Regions from separate parts of the Homo sapiens genome. Here regions 2, 3, 4 and 5 are each linked to region 1. Evidence: promoter capture Hi-C in 16 types of primary human blood cells and fetal thymus (Javierre and others, 2016). All regions are on one chromosome and are shown on one strand. The core of a region is centred on a gene start or on the middle of the fragment in contact, and the rest is flanking DNA. Distances in the headings are between cores, read along the strand shown. Region 1 holds the start of NAA35 (N-alpha-acetyltransferase 35, NatC auxiliary subunit). Region 2 has its middle 5.1 kb from the start of SPIN1. Region 3 overlaps UBQLN1 (ubiquilin 1). Region 4 overlaps UBQLN1 (ubiquilin 1). Region 5 overlaps CDK20 (cyclin dependent kinase 20).

Evidence for each region. The method cuts DNA at HindIII sites, captures the fragments that hold promoters and counts their contacts. A CHiCAGO score of 5 or more calls a contact.
Region 2: a fragment that was not itself captured here is called in contact with the fragment with the promoter of NAA35 in region 1 in 1 of 17 cell types (total B cells); the score reaches 5.1 in total B cells.
Region 3: a contact is called between a fragment that was not itself captured here and the fragment with the promoter of NAA35 in region 1, in 1 of 17 cell types (non-activated CD4 T cells). The highest score is 5.7, in non-activated CD4 T cells.
Region 4: a fragment that was not itself captured here is called in contact with the fragment with the promoter of NAA35 in region 1 in 1 of 17 cell types (non-activated CD4 T cells); the score reaches 5.7 in non-activated CD4 T cells.
Region 5: a fragment that was not itself captured here is called in contact with the fragment with the promoter of NAA35 in region 1 in 5 of 17 cell types (fetal thymus, total CD8 T cells, naive CD8 T cells and 2 more); the score reaches 9.9 in fetal thymus.

What each region holds. Positions count from the first base shown.
Region 1 is chr9:85,939,754-85,942,576 of GRCh38, forward strand. It overlaps NAA35 (N-alpha-acetyltransferase 35, NatC auxiliary subunit), which reads left to right and starts at 1,393. Exons shown (of 23, transcript NM_024635.4): 1 at 1,393-1,520; 2 at 2,402-2,530. The coding sequence starts at 2,407. RefSeq lists a silencer at 1,297-1,976. The HindIII fragment of the contact is 5,629 bases long and covers 1-2,417 here.
Region 2 is chr9:88,381,920-88,384,742 of GRCh38, forward strand. No RefSeq gene overlaps it. Among named protein-coding and RNA genes, the nearest start is that of SPIN1, 5.1 kb to the right of the region's middle. The HindIII fragment of the contact is 2,446 bases long and covers 118-2,563 here.
Region 3 is chr9:83,663,877-83,666,699 of GRCh38, forward strand. It overlaps UBQLN1 (ubiquilin 1), which reads right to left. Exons shown (of 11, transcript NM_013438.5): 8 at 2,474-2,557; 9 at 1,154-1,269; 10 at 1-167. Among named protein-coding and RNA genes, the nearest start is that of IDNK, 42 kb to the left of the region's middle. The HindIII fragment of the contact is 5,914 bases long and covers 1-2,823 here.
Region 4 is chr9:83,684,000-83,686,822 of GRCh38, forward strand. It overlaps UBQLN1 (ubiquilin 1), which reads right to left. Exons shown (of 11, transcript NM_013438.5): 2 at 2,005-2,156. Among named protein-coding and RNA genes, the nearest start is that of UBQLN1-AS1, 22 kb to the right of the region's middle. The HindIII fragment of the contact is 3,472 bases long and covers 1-2,823 here.
Region 5 is chr9:87,971,059-87,973,881 of GRCh38, forward strand. CDK20 (cyclin dependent kinase 20) reads right to left here. Exons shown (of 8, transcript NM_001039803.3): 3 at 89-277. Among named protein-coding and RNA genes, the nearest start is that of CDK20, 2.1 kb to the right of the region's middle. The HindIII fragment of the contact is 4,347 bases long and covers 1-2,823 here.

The DNA.
Region 1 (2,823 bases), core at 143-2,642:
TAGTCTCCAACCCGACCTCTCCACTGCCAGCCTCCCAAAGTGTTGGGATTACACGCATGAGCTACCAGCTACCAAGCTCAGCCTGATTTCTTTTACTCAATATATTTTTGAAATTCATTCATGTTGTATGTCAAGTAGTTTATCCCTGTTTATTGATAATTACATTCATTACATTGTATGGATATGCCACAAATTGTTTTTATTCAACAGTTGATGGACATTTGGGTTGTCTGTAGTTTTTGATGATTAAAAACAAAGCTGGGCCAGGCACGGTGGCTCATACCTGTAATCCCAGCACTCTGGGAGGCTGAGGTGGGCAGATCACGAGGTCAGGAGTTTGAGATCAGCCTGACCAACATGGTGAAACCCCATCTCTACTAAAAATACAAAAAACAGCCTGGTGTGGGGGCAGGCGCCTGTAATCCCAGCTACTCGGGAGACTGAGGCACGAGAATTGCTTGAACCTGAAAGGCAGAGGTTGCAATGAGCCGAGATCAGGTCACTGCACTCTAGCAGGGGCGACAAGAGTGACACTCTGTCTCAAACAAAAACAAAAACAAAGCAAAACAAAGCTGGTATGAACATTAACGTACAAGCCTTTGTATGAATATGTTTTTGTTCCTAAGTAAATTCGTAGATTACTGGATCGAATGATAAGTATATGATTATAAGGAGAGATTGTTAAGTTTTCCAAAGTGGTTGTACCATTTTGCATTACCACCACCAACATAACAGAGGTCCAGTTGCTCTGCATCCTTGCCAACATTTGGTATTATCTTTTCCATCTTTTAATTTTGGGCCATCCTAAAGAACAGGTGGTGATAAAGATGTGCTTCTTACCTGCGCCCGTCTATTTATGTAACCCCATTTAAAAACTGATCATTTTATTAATAAATTAAAAAAATCTAAAACATATAAGAATCTGAAATTAAATGTCTGGCTTGACTTTGCAGATATTTTGAATCTATGTTTCCTCACGAAACTCCCAGGCGCTGTATAGGAAACATAAATCCGTTGTCAGGCAGCAGTAGCACGCTGTTGCTCTCGGAGCTTGGCTGCTCGTTCGTGCTCGCAACCACTAAGGTCTACGCAAACCTCCACGGTTTCCTTCCGCCTTCGCGTCACCTTTCTAAGAAATTCCCAGAGGGCAGCGCAGACGGGGCGGGCTCTGAGACTCCGGGCTCCGCCTCTTTCCGGGAACCGCCCACTACCCAGGACTCCGACAGAGGGTGAAAAAAGATAACTTCCGGTCTCGCGATCGTCTCTAATCTCGCGAGAAGAGAAGGCGGCCGCCATCGGCCGAACGGAGGCGGTGGCGAGGGAGGGGGTGTGGCCGGGGAGCGCGAAGTCCCCGGGAGTAAGGGAGAGGGGGCGGGGTCGCGCGTCCCGGGCATACGCATGCGTGCACGCTGCCGGTCGGGCTGGGCTGAGAGGGGAGGGGGCGGCGGCGGCCGAGGCGGCGTCGTTATTTCCGTGGTCCGGACAGTGCGTGGCGGCGCGGGTGACCACGGGAGAAGTAGGTAGGGACCGCCCCTGCGTAGCCATTGAAACCCTCTCGCTCGTGTGTCCGAGAGCCGCAGCCCCCCGCGCGTGTGGCAGATCCTGGGGACCCCAGGTCACCCTGCGGCCCCGGCCCTCCCGCTGCGCGTCAGGTAGGAGCGGCGGGCTCCCCAGTGCCCGCTGTCGGCCGAGGCCCCACTCTTGCCCGGTGTTGCCGAGGCGACGACCCGGCGCCGGACGTGCCCGCCCTCCCGCGCGGCGACAGCTCTGTCCTTGCTTATGCGCCCAGTGGGACCGGGGCTGGGCTGGGCTGACCCGGGCAGGGCGGAAGGGAAGCGTGTGCCCGCCTCAGGTGTGCCTCGGCCCTAGGCCCGGCCGGCGGGACCCTGCGGTGCCTGCCGGCTCCTCATTGCTCCCGGCGAGGTTCTGCCTGGGTCCGGGCCGGCTCTGGCCCGGGAGAGGTCCCAGCGAGCTCTGGCCAGATGAAGGGCTACCTTGATTGACTTCGGTAGCTGCCGCATGGGGTCCTGGGCTGCGAGAGGGGACCCTGAATAGTGCCTTGGTCTTTTGTGGCTATTATTGAAAGTTGGAAGCTCTGGAGTTGTTCTTTTCGGGCCAGAGGTGAGATGGTTTGTGATTTTTCTTCTTAAACAGTAGGAAGGCAAAATGTTTATGGGCCCTGGTAGGTGGTGGGCTAATAGTAAGCAGCAGGAGTGTTAATTGACGTGCGATTTGATTGCATTAAGGTTATTCTTTGCAGTACTGTCCTTAGACTCAGAAGAGTTCTGCTTTAAAGAGTTTAGTTAAGACTTCATCCTATGCTGAAACAAACACCCATTTCTGCAAATACTCTTGCCCTGAAAGCTACATCCTCTCTCTTACATCAGTATTAATTTTACAGGCATAATGGTTATGAAAGCTTCTGTAGATGATGACGATTCAGGATGGGAGCTCAGTATGCCAGAAAAAATGGAGAAAAGCAATACAAACTGGGTGGACATTACCCAAGATTTTGAAGAAGCTTGTCGAGGTGAGTCTGATTTTTGGATTAGAAGTTCAGCATCTGGAAGGGGTAGAATGACGATTGTGCTTTCTAAACTTACCTCATTAGATGAAATCAACAGGTAAATGTGGTTTGTTGAGTTTGTTAGCCACACTTATTCTGTATCCTCTAATTTTAACTTTAAAGCAAATGTATATTTGATACAGCATTAAATACAGATGTTGAGGCAGTATTTTAAAATTGAATTTTTCTTGCTTTAACAGGTTAGAGAGAGCAGTAATTTCTAACTGTGGAAAACACTTTGTTAATCTAAAAGATAA
Region 2 (2,823 bases), core at 91-2,590, 2.4 Mb after region 1:
GAGATGAGCTCTTGAAACCCCTTCTTGTTCTGAGGGTTGCATGATTGGTGAATTGTTCTTTGGTCAAATAAACTCTGTTAAACTTATCTTGTCTGATATTCTTCTTTATCAGGAAGAAGCTTTGGTGTCGAGTCCAGTAGTCGGAGGCTTCCTGAGAAGTAAACTAAACAGGCCCCCACCATTCAAGACTCACACTCTAGCAAGGTGATGGGATAGTGGGAGAAAGGGTCAGAGGATGGGGGCTGGGCCTAAGACTGGGTGTGGCTCCTCCACAGACCACCTGGGTTTGTTTTTTTTAAACCAATTACTTCCCATGGAAGAATAACTTCTGTATTGAAGTTGTAGCGTGAACATGGGGAAGCCATCCACAGAGACTCTAAACCATCAATAAGCCCTGAGCCGGTATGGAACTTGCCCAAGCTGGTATGGAACTCCTGGGTTCAAACAATACTCCTGCCCAGGCCTCCCAAAGTGCTGGGATTACAGGCGTGAGAGCCACAGTGCCCACCCTTATAGTGTCTTTATTGACCCCCTACTCTCACCAGACTTTTGTCTAGGCAGTGGAGATACGGCAAAGGATAGAGCAAAGGATGTATGCTGGGAGCTTATAAGACTATGATAATGTGACAGAGGGCTAGAGGAGGGATGGAGCATGCTCCCACCCTTGCCAGCCTCCTGGAACCCAGGTGAGCAGACAACACCCAGAGAGGCTCCCAGCAGGGCTGTGTGTGCTCAGTTTGTTTCTGACCCTGTCTCTGTTTGTGCTTTCCTTATTTGTTCCCCTCCTCTGGTCCTAATGCTGACCATCCAGGCAGGTGCTGGTGACTTCGGTTCTGACCGACAGCCTGGATGGACACCACACTTCCTCACGTGGAGCCTGTATCAGTTGTGGCTCTCAGTCAGAGATCTGGCCCCAGTGCCTCATCACATCCAACACAGAAGAGCTGCCTCTGTCTCAGTGAGGCCACCATCTTATCAGGATTCACATGTTAGGTGTCTTAGTCTATTTTCTGTTGCTTGAAACTGGGTAATTTATAAAGAAAGGAAGTTTCCTTTTTTCTTTTTTTTTGAGATGGAGTTTCACTTTGTTGCCTAGGCTGGAGTGCAGTGGCATGATCTCGACTCACTGCAACCTCCATCTCCCGGGTTCAAGCGATTCTTGTGCCTCACACTCCCAAATAGCTGGGACTACAAGCATGTGCCACCATGCCCAGATAATTTTTGTATTTTTAGTAGAGACGGGGTTTCACCATGTTGGCCAGGCTAGTCTCCAACTCCTGACCTCAGGTGATCCGCCCTCCTTCGCCTCCCAAAGTGCTGGGATTATAGGCATGAGCCAGCATGCCCGGCCACAAGGGAAATTTATTTCTTACAGTTATGGAGGCTGGGAAGTCCAAGCTCAAGAGGGCCTTCTTGCTAGTGGGGACTCTCTGCAGAGTCCTGAGACTGTGCAGGGCATCACATGGAGAGGGGGCTGAGTGAGCTCACTTGCTAGCTCAGGTCTCTCTTCCTCTTATAAAACCATCAGTTCCACTTTCATAACAACCCATTAATCCACTAATCCATGTATGGACTATACCTCTTAAAAGCCCCACCTCTCAATATTGCCACACTGGGGGCTATATTTCAACATGAGTTTGGAGGAGATAAACACTCAAACCATAGCATTTAGAGCTGCCTAATCAGCACATCCATAAATCTATAGCCATGAGTGTGAGTGGGAGAACCAGCATGAACCTCAATCATATTAAGGGCCAACATGTTAATATTCACTCAACGGGAGAACCTGAGCAGTCCTAGCTGGATGACCGCTGCCTGACCCATCTGTGTATGACACAGGCAACCACTGGGGAGACAGCATCCTTTCCTAAAGGTGGATCTTCAAGCTCACCCACCTAGAGGTTAAGCCAATCAAATAATTATCCATGTACTTGGGGTATATATTGGATACTGAATACTTTTCGCTGTGTTGAATAATTCTATAATAAATATACTAATTTGAAAAGGATCCCTAGGGTCAGTTTCCAATTATTACATCAATGCCAGTGGGGTGAACATATCAAGGTTCACCGTAGATATAACCACCCCTCATGCCTTTGGTATCTCTTCCTTCTTCCACTCCAAATCACAAGCATATTCATCCTTGGGGCAGAAATCCTCCCAAGTAGGAGCCCAGGAACCCAGAGTTAAAAGACATATACATCTAGTATAGGCCAAGGCTTTTATTTATTTATTTATTTTTGAGACGGAGTTTCGCTCTTATTGCCCAGGCTGGAGTGCAACGGCGCGATCTCGGCTCACTGCAACCTCTGCCTCCCAGGTTCAAGCGATTCTTCTGTCTCAGCCTCCCGAGTAGCTGGGATTACAGGCGCCTGCCACCAAGCCCGGCTAATTTTTTTGTATTTTTAGTAGAGAAGGGGTTTCACCGTGTTGGTCAGGCTGGTCTCGAACTCCTGACCTCAGGTGATCTGCCCACCTCTGCCTCTCAAAGTGTTGGGATTATAGGCATGAGCCACCGCGCCCAGCCGGCCAAGGTTTTTAACATGCCAATTTGTATTTAATAAGCTTGCTATAGGAGGAAAAATATATGTAGAACCTTTGATCCAATCTCTAGAAGTTGAGTATGGTTGAGAAACTGCAAAGAAATTAACTATATGCCAGGGTTGGTGGTGCATGCTTGTAGCCCCAGCTATTCAGGAAGCCAAGGTGAAGGATGGACAGTTCAAGCCAGGCCTGGGCGAAATAGCAAGACTCCTTCTCCAAAATATAACAAAAGCAAAATAAAAGAAATTTGCTATATAGGTAAGTTTCTCAAAACATTTC
Region 3 (2,823 bases), core at 230-2,729, 2.3 Mb before region 1:
GAGGATTTACTCCAGCAAGAGCCTGCAGCATCTGCTGAATAAACTGCTGATGTCCAGGTTCAGTGGTTCCTGCTGTGGGACTTGTGTTTTCACTAGGTGTGGCGTTAGATCCATTAGTTCCCGAAGAGCCTCCAGTGCTTCCTAATGCCCCCAAGCCAGGAGTAAACCTACAGAAAGCACAAATAGGAAATATCCTAAGGTCCTGCAAAACCAGAAGCCAGTCCGTAAATCAGTTACATTTTAATATAAGCTAAGCCATCTTCTTAAAATAAGCCCTTTTGGCCTGGTGCAGTGGCTCATTCTGGGAGACCGATGATCCCAGCAGCCCAGGAATTTGAGATCAGCTTAGGCAACATTGTTGAGACTTCATCTCTACAAAAAATAAAAACAAAATTAGCTGGGTGTGCTGGTGCACACCTGTAGTATCAGTTACTTGGCAGGCTGAGGTAAGAGGATTGCTTTAGCCCAGGAGGTAGAGGCTGAAGTGAGCTGAGATCGCGCCACTGCACTCCAGTCTGCTCGATGGAGTGAGACTATCTCTAAAAGGAATTTAAAAAATAATAATAATCATTTTTAACTTTGAAAACCCTGACTTAAAAACAATCATAGCCAGGCACTGTGTCCCAACTACTGGGGAGGCTGAGGTGGGAGGATCACCTGAGCTTAGAAGTTCAAGTTCAGCCAGGGTAAAAGAGCAAAAACCGATCTCTTAATAAATAAATAAGTAAATAAATAAATAAAAACGGTGGGGGAGAACCAGGTGCTATGGCTCATGTCTCTGATCCCACTTTGGGAGGCCAAATCTCTTGAGCCCAGAAGTTTGAGACCAGCCTGGATAACATGGCAAAGCTCCATCTCTAAAAACAGTAACAACAACAAATTATATATATAAATTAGCTAGGTGTGGTGGTGCACACCTGTAGTCCCAGCTACTTGGGAGGCTGAGGTGAGAGAATCCCTTGAGCCCGAGAGGTCGAGGCTGCAGTGAGCCACAACTGCGCCCCCACACTCATAGCCTAGGCGAAGGGCGAGACCCTGTATCCCACCAAAAAAAAAAAAAAAAAAAAAAAGGCAGGCAGAATAATACTAAATCTGAAATTCTCAGAGAAAGTAACCATTATACACTTTCATTATCTTCCCCAAATAAGCCTACCCTGGGATGAGGCCCGGGGCTTCCGTTGCTAATGTCTGTAAACCCTGCTGAATCTGTAACAAGGCCTGCATTGCTCTAGGGTTTGACATTGCTGATAGTGTATCAGGATTCTGCATCTAAGGAAGAAAGAAAACTAGTGGTTACAAAGGAATTAAAATCAGTGAACGTAAATTTTTAAATCTTTTCTCTGTTATGCTTCTGGAGAAAATCTAAAACCTTACTCCTGGACACTGGTAATCCATAATTTCTTTCCCAAAATAAACGCAAGTATCTCCTCTTTGACAGCAAACCTAGTGTGCAAATTATTACTTGACCTCCTCCTAAGTCCATCATGAAAGCCATTTCCATAATGGAAGAAAATCAGGAGCTACTTTGGAAGCCACAACTATTCCCCTTCTCCAACAGAAGATAAAGTATTACTTCTAAGACACAACCTCCAAAGGCACAATTCTTACGACGTGGATATGGTAAAAAGCCACATATTCCACCTAACCAAGTGTTATCTGTTACTAATATAACAATTTTACCAGTAAGGTACACTCTAAAACAACAGTTCCAAATTTGACGTTAATACATGTATCCTGAGTTTAGCTTTACTACTTCCAAATATACACCACCTGACTAACCAAAGATAGGCTTACATCATTACAATAGATCAAGGACACCAACCTTGGAAAATGGTTTACAGGTCTGAGAGTCATTTGCATAATACATGAGGCCCTAGAACTACCAGTTTCAAAACACCAAGACTGACTTCTCTTTTGTCGTTTTAAATAATAAAATACCATGGCAATCTCAAGTACTCGTTTATACTATAACCTTCCTTACTTCCTTATATGACAACACTGACTATTTTAATCTTACTAATCCCGAGTTTGAGGAAATGAGATCTACCCCTTGGGGAAAAAAAGCCTTCTACTAATTTGGAAGAAAACCTATAAAATAGAATAGGGTAGCTCTTTCCTGTTACTCAAAATTAGTTAAACCATAAAGCGTAACATGACACAAGGAAGCACTTCAAAGTTAGTACAATGAAAGGAAATGGTTTATGGTATTAACAAAGCATTCAAAATCCTAGGTCCTCAAAAGCAAAAACAAAATGTTCTTTCCTCAGAATGTATGTTTAAGAAACATAAGCAAAAGGTCAGCAGTGAAATGGGACTCAGTGAAGATCAAGCTGAATTCTCTACGAATTGACAGCATTATTGGTCTCTATTCTATGTTTTGCTATCAGCCAGAGAAGAGCAAGGAAAAATGTTTATCATCAAATTTTTTCAAGCAAATCATTACCCAAGATAGCTAACATCTTGTCTTACTCACTTGTTGGAGGAAAGTTGGGAGCTGTTGTCTCATTTGTTCTTGAAGCTGAGGATTTCCAGCAAATAGGGGATTATTCAGCATCATCTATGGGGCAAGTGTTCAAACAATTTTAACTGGAAATATCTGAAACAAGTAATGTACCTTGTTTTATTCTATCTTCCCCCAAGTGCCTCAGCTGGCACTTAAAAGGGAGGAAGGTAGAACATAAATAAAAAAAGGAAAAGGGAAGATACTGTCCACAAGAGGGATCTCCAGAAGAACAAAAACAAAAAAATGAGGCATATTCTCTCTCAATGAGAATGGTGGTTATGATAATGACATGCAATATCCTAAAAAATAAAAGCAATCAT
Region 4 (2,823 bases), core at 197-2,696, 2.3 Mb before region 1:
GACAGAGAGAGACTCTTGAAAAACAAACAAACAAACAAACAAAAAAACCCACAACTTTTTTATCTATCCCCTTCTAGTTCTTGAGGGTTATGAGCCAGTTTTACTCTGGCCCTTGAAATTCTTGAAAACAATAAAAAGCGAGAGACTTCACCAAAAGAAAGCCAACAAATCAATATGATTAATAATTATTACTTTATTTATTTATTTTTTTAAAGACAGAGTCTTGCTCTGTCACCCAGGCTGGAGGTGCAGTGGCATGATCTCGGCTCACTGTAACCTCCACCTCCCAGGTTCAAGCGATTCTCCTGCCTCAGCCTCCCGAGTAGCTGGGACTACAGGTGCACACCACTGTGCTGGGCAATTTTTTGTATTTTTAGTAGAGACAGCGTTTCACCATGTTTACCACGCTGCTCTGGAACTCCTGACCTCAGGTGATCTGCCCACCTCACCCTCCCAAAGTGCTCAGATTTCAGGTGTGAGCCACCGCGCCTGGCCTGATTATTACTTAGTATTATCTCTAAAAGGAAATAAGCCAGACAAGGTGGCTCACACCTGTAATCCCAGCACTTTGGGAGGCCAAGGCTGGTGGATCACCTGAGTTCAGGAGTTCGTGACCAGCCTGGCCAACATGAGGAAACCCCGTCTCTATCAAAAATACAAAATTAGCCGGGCGTGGTGGCGCATGCCTGTAATTCCAGCTACTTGGGAGGCTGAGGCGGGAGAATCGCTTGAACCCAGAGGCAGACGTTGCAGTGAGCTGAGATCGCACCGTTGCACTCCAGCCTGGGCAACAAGAGTGAAATTCCGTCTCAAAAAAAAAAAAAAAAAAGTAAGGAAATAAAAAAAACCCTTCCAGATGATACCAGATAAGAGTTTTGAATGCCACTCATTGCTTCTTTCCCTGAATTTAGCTAAGGCACACATTTTTCTATTTTAACATCTCCGAAATCAGGATCTGTCTTACAATTGCTGACAGCCAGGCATCAACTACATGCCTGCACATGTAGTCTACATGACTTCAACTGAATGCCTGGGTACACTGTTGTATCATATGTAACGGGCTTAATTACCACATTAAGTGTCTTCAAAATAATTACACTATTAATTGGCACTGACAGAAGTTACCATGTATTCAGAATAGCACCAAAATAGAAGGAATATGTTGAATGAGTAAAGCAAGTATTTGCTGTTGGTAAACAACAGCATAAAAACTTACAGGAGTGTTAATGGCTTGGAACAAAATCCTGGAGAAAATACTGGAGAGCTCTTTTAAGCAATGCTACACCACCAACACTCTTGACAGAACAGAGTTTGATACTGTATGAAAAAATATGGACACTGACAACTAAGTCTTCGTATGTTATGCAAGAGTGATATGATAAAATTCCATACCCATGTAAGTCTAAAGGAGCTCTTTCACTAAGTATAAAATAAACATTTTAAGTGACAAGAAAACATCAATTCAGTTAGCAGTATTCTTTCTTAGTGATACACAAAGGTATCTCTTTAAAACTGGTGGTGCCAGCTGGACACTGTGGCACGCACCTACAGTCCCAGGCTGACATGGGAGCATCACTTGAGCCCAGCCTGGGCAACATGGCATGACTCTGTCTCTTAAAAAAAAAAAAAAAAAAGTTCCTTAGACTTAAAGAAATATGATTATCAATTCGTGGTTTGCTAAGGAGATAAGTTACTCATGATCTTTGTCTAAAAATTTCCTTACTAAAAGAAAAGCTAAAAACTTGCCTGTTCTAATGCAAATAATTTAGGTATAATAACTAAATACCAATGAACCTTGTAAAATATGAAATGGTTATCTGACAATCACGTAAGCATTAACATGGAATCACACTTTTTAAAAAAATTGTTATCGACAGCAAGGAAAGAATTTTAACTATTTAAATATTAATGACAGGGAAAGTAATTTACAGCCAACACTAGTTACTTTTAGAAGTACGAACATTTATCCACAATTTTAAAGCTGTACATCTTCCAAAACCATACCTGTTTTGTGTTTTAATGACAAGGTGAACAGTAAGTCCATCATGAATTCCATGCTGACTCAAGGTATCTTGATCTTTCAAAATTTTTCCAGCAAATATCAACACAAGTTGGTCAGTATGTGATTTAAAACGTTTAGAGATTTCTTCCTTAAACTAAATAAAAATAAAATAAGTATGTATTACAGTTGTTTGCACAGCACCATACAGTCTAGTTTCTACAGGTACCTCATAGAGGCCCCTACTACAGACGCTACAATTCAAACACCATAATCCCAATGTTCCAGGAGGCTGAGGCAGGAGGACTGCCTGAGTCCAGGAGTTCGAGGCTGCAGTGAGCTATTATCACACCACTGCACTCCAGCCTGGGTGACAGAGTGATATCCCGCCTCTAAAAACAAAACAAAACAAAAAATCCCCAATTCAAAACAATACAGAGATGCATCCTTTTTATGTCAGTATCTTGATGTTAGTAAGAAATGATTATTACTTCATCTCTAACACAAAGGTCCTACTATAGGTGCACATATCCTATATTCGATCCTCTGCTAAGGCCTAACAATGCATTGCTTCCCAATATCCTTATTCTTTTTATGTTAATGAGACCAAATTTAGTTCGAGCCACAGTTAGCTCTTACCACGTCCAAAATAATCCATTCCTCAGACTTCTATCTTCAGTCCTGTTCCTTTCTTTCTAGTTGAATACAGTATACACAGCCAATCTCATATTCTTGGCCTAGCGGTGGAGTATCTCTAATGCAAATACCCCAAATATGAAATGCACCAACATCCAAAACTTTTGAGTATCCATGACACTCAAAGG
Region 5 (2,823 bases), core at 201-2,700, 2.0 Mb after region 1:
TTCTTATCACACCTTTTACAAGGGCTAGCCCCATCCCCAAGCCAAGTCAGCTCCCCAGACCCCATGCCCGGCCTATGCTGAGACTGACCCGATGTACAATGTTGTTGGCATGGCAGAAGGCGACACCCTTGAGCAGCATCTGCAGGTAGCTCTTGACCTGTGCCTGGGCTAGTGGCCTCTGGGCATGGCGCACCACCTCGGCCAGATCCGACAGCATGAACTCAAAGGCCAGCACAAAGCCTCCACCGTGTGGGAACACAGCCTTCAGTTGTACCACCTGTGGGCAGGACATCTTGTTAGCCCCCAGACTCAAGTCACCAGACCCTCTCTGTGACCCTGAGACCCCAGCCCATGCCCTGACAGAGGACCCTGTATCCAAAAAGACAGTAAGCAAAGAAGGTGACGTGGACCTGAGCTAAGAATCAGAGAGCTCGATGCTCATGATTTGCTCTGCTCTCCTGAGATAAGGTGTGCCCCCACTCTAATTCTCCATGAACACTAAAAGGTCTAAAAAAGGTCATTTAGTGGCACCATCTGGTCCGCCCACCCAGCCTACCCGCCTGAAAATCATCTGGATGGTCACACATGAGATGGACAGGTCTCCTCCTGTTTCCTCTAGAACCACCGAATCCCAGCACCAAGGAAAGGACACCAGGAATCCCACCTTTCCCAGTGCTGGGACAGCTACAGACACATCACAAACACTGAGGCCAGTACTGTCAGAGGAGCCAGGCTACACAGAGAGTGAGCTGAGAGACAGGACTCTTAATGAACTCACAGCACAAAGGACAAACAGTTTAACAAATAAATGAATAAAAGGGATATATTCAGATTCTGTAAGTACAGGAACCAAAATACAAGGGGGCTGGGCATGACGTCTCATGCCCGTAATCCCAGTACTTTGAGAGGCCAAGGTGGGCGGATGGCTTGAACCCAGGTGTTTGAGACCAGCCTGGGCAACATGGTGAAACCTTGTCTCTACAAAAAATACAAAAAACTAGCCAGGCATGGTGACACGTGCCTGTAGTCCTAGCTACTTGGGAAGCTGAGGTGGGAGGATCACCTGAGCCCAGGAGGTTGAGACTACAGGGAGACAAAATCGCACTTCTACACTCCAGCCTGGGTGACAGAGTGAGACCCTGTATCAAAAAAAGAAAAAAAATCAACAGAACTAGAAGAGGATAGTGTGATTCTGTGAGTGGAGAAAAGGATACTTCTTTATTTAGGTGGGGTGGGGCTAGATGAGGACCCAGTTTGTGGGGATCTGGGATAAAGCTCTGAGCAGGAAGAAAAGCAAGTGCAAGGCCCTAACGCCAGCACAGAAGGAGGCTAGAGGGATGTGAGTACATGAGATTGTTTAAGGGAAGGATGTGTCTGCCTTGTTCTGTGCTCCTGGACCCTAGATAGGTGCTGGTCACTGGAGAGATGCCTAAGAAGTTGTGTTGAATGAGAGAAAAGGGAGAGGCCAGCTGGAGGTGGGCACATGGTGATAGTGCTCTAAGTGTGAAGAGAAGCCACCAGGGCTTTTTACGCAGGGGAGCCGATGACTTAACTTACACTTTTGACAAAGCCCTCCGGACTGTGGCTATGGAGAGCAGTGGGGAGGCTGCCACTGTCATTCTGATGAGTGGTGATGATGACTTGGGCAAGGAGCAAATCTAGAGTATGTTTTAAAGTTAGAACCTTCAGAATTGCTGACCAACTGGATGTAGGGACCATATCACCAGCTTCCTTATGGATCTCTCCACCTATCCCACACATGGCTGTCTGGAAGCCCTTTTATCTTCCTCAAAAAATCAAAATGGCCTGATTGCTGTTTTCGGATTTTTCAGGTAGTACACAACCATTTAACAGATCAAAACACATGCACACATTCAGGTAAGACATAAAATCCAACAGAAAAAGAACAAAAGAAAAATCCTACAGTCAATCTTAGAGTGTATTCTACCAGACTTTACAACAGATATGGCACACACAAATACACATTCACATATATAATATTTCCAAACAAAACCCAGATGACACAAAATTTTATAACATGCTTTTGTCATCCAATATATCATGCATATCTCCAGATCACAGAGACCCAACCCTGTTAACTCTCCAGGGAGTCAAATACATTCCCTATTTCGACATGGGTGAGAGAGAGCACCAAAAGAGTAATGACACTAGGGGTGAAAGATGCCCCTCTTCGTGTTCCAGCAGCCCCTCCCGGTACCCTATCACAGCACGAACCACACTAGGTGGGCCCTGTTGCCTCTGTCTCTTGTTAGCACACTTAAGTCCTCAGGAGCTGGGCTGGAGCTGGTTTCTCTGTGTCACCAGTGCCCAACACAGGGTAGAGCCTATGGGAGGTCCCAAGGGAAGAATGGACTCTCAATCAAACCTGGGCCAAACCCTCTACTGACTAACGGAGGGCCCAAGAGCTGGTGACATAACCTCCTCCTCTCACCTGAGAAACAGAGATCTGGAAACCTGCCTTGTACAGTAGTAAAGAGGTCTCAAAATGACAATGTATATAATGCCTGCAGAACACATCGGGAGCTCAATAGGTGCTAGTTACATTATAAATCACTACATGTTTTGAGAAAAAAAGTCGGTGAATGAATGAATACATTAAGAAATAAGTAGGCAAATGAGAGTGAATGTGTGAGAAATGAAAGAAATAGGTAAATAAAGGTGAACAAGTGGACAAAAAAGGGCAAAAGGGGGTAAGGAGGCAGATGAATGAGCAGTGTGTGTGAGTGACAGCGGGAGGAAATCCCTGAAAGCTGGTGAAGGCGTAGCTGGGAAAATGAAGGCACAAAGAAGTGGGAACGAGCG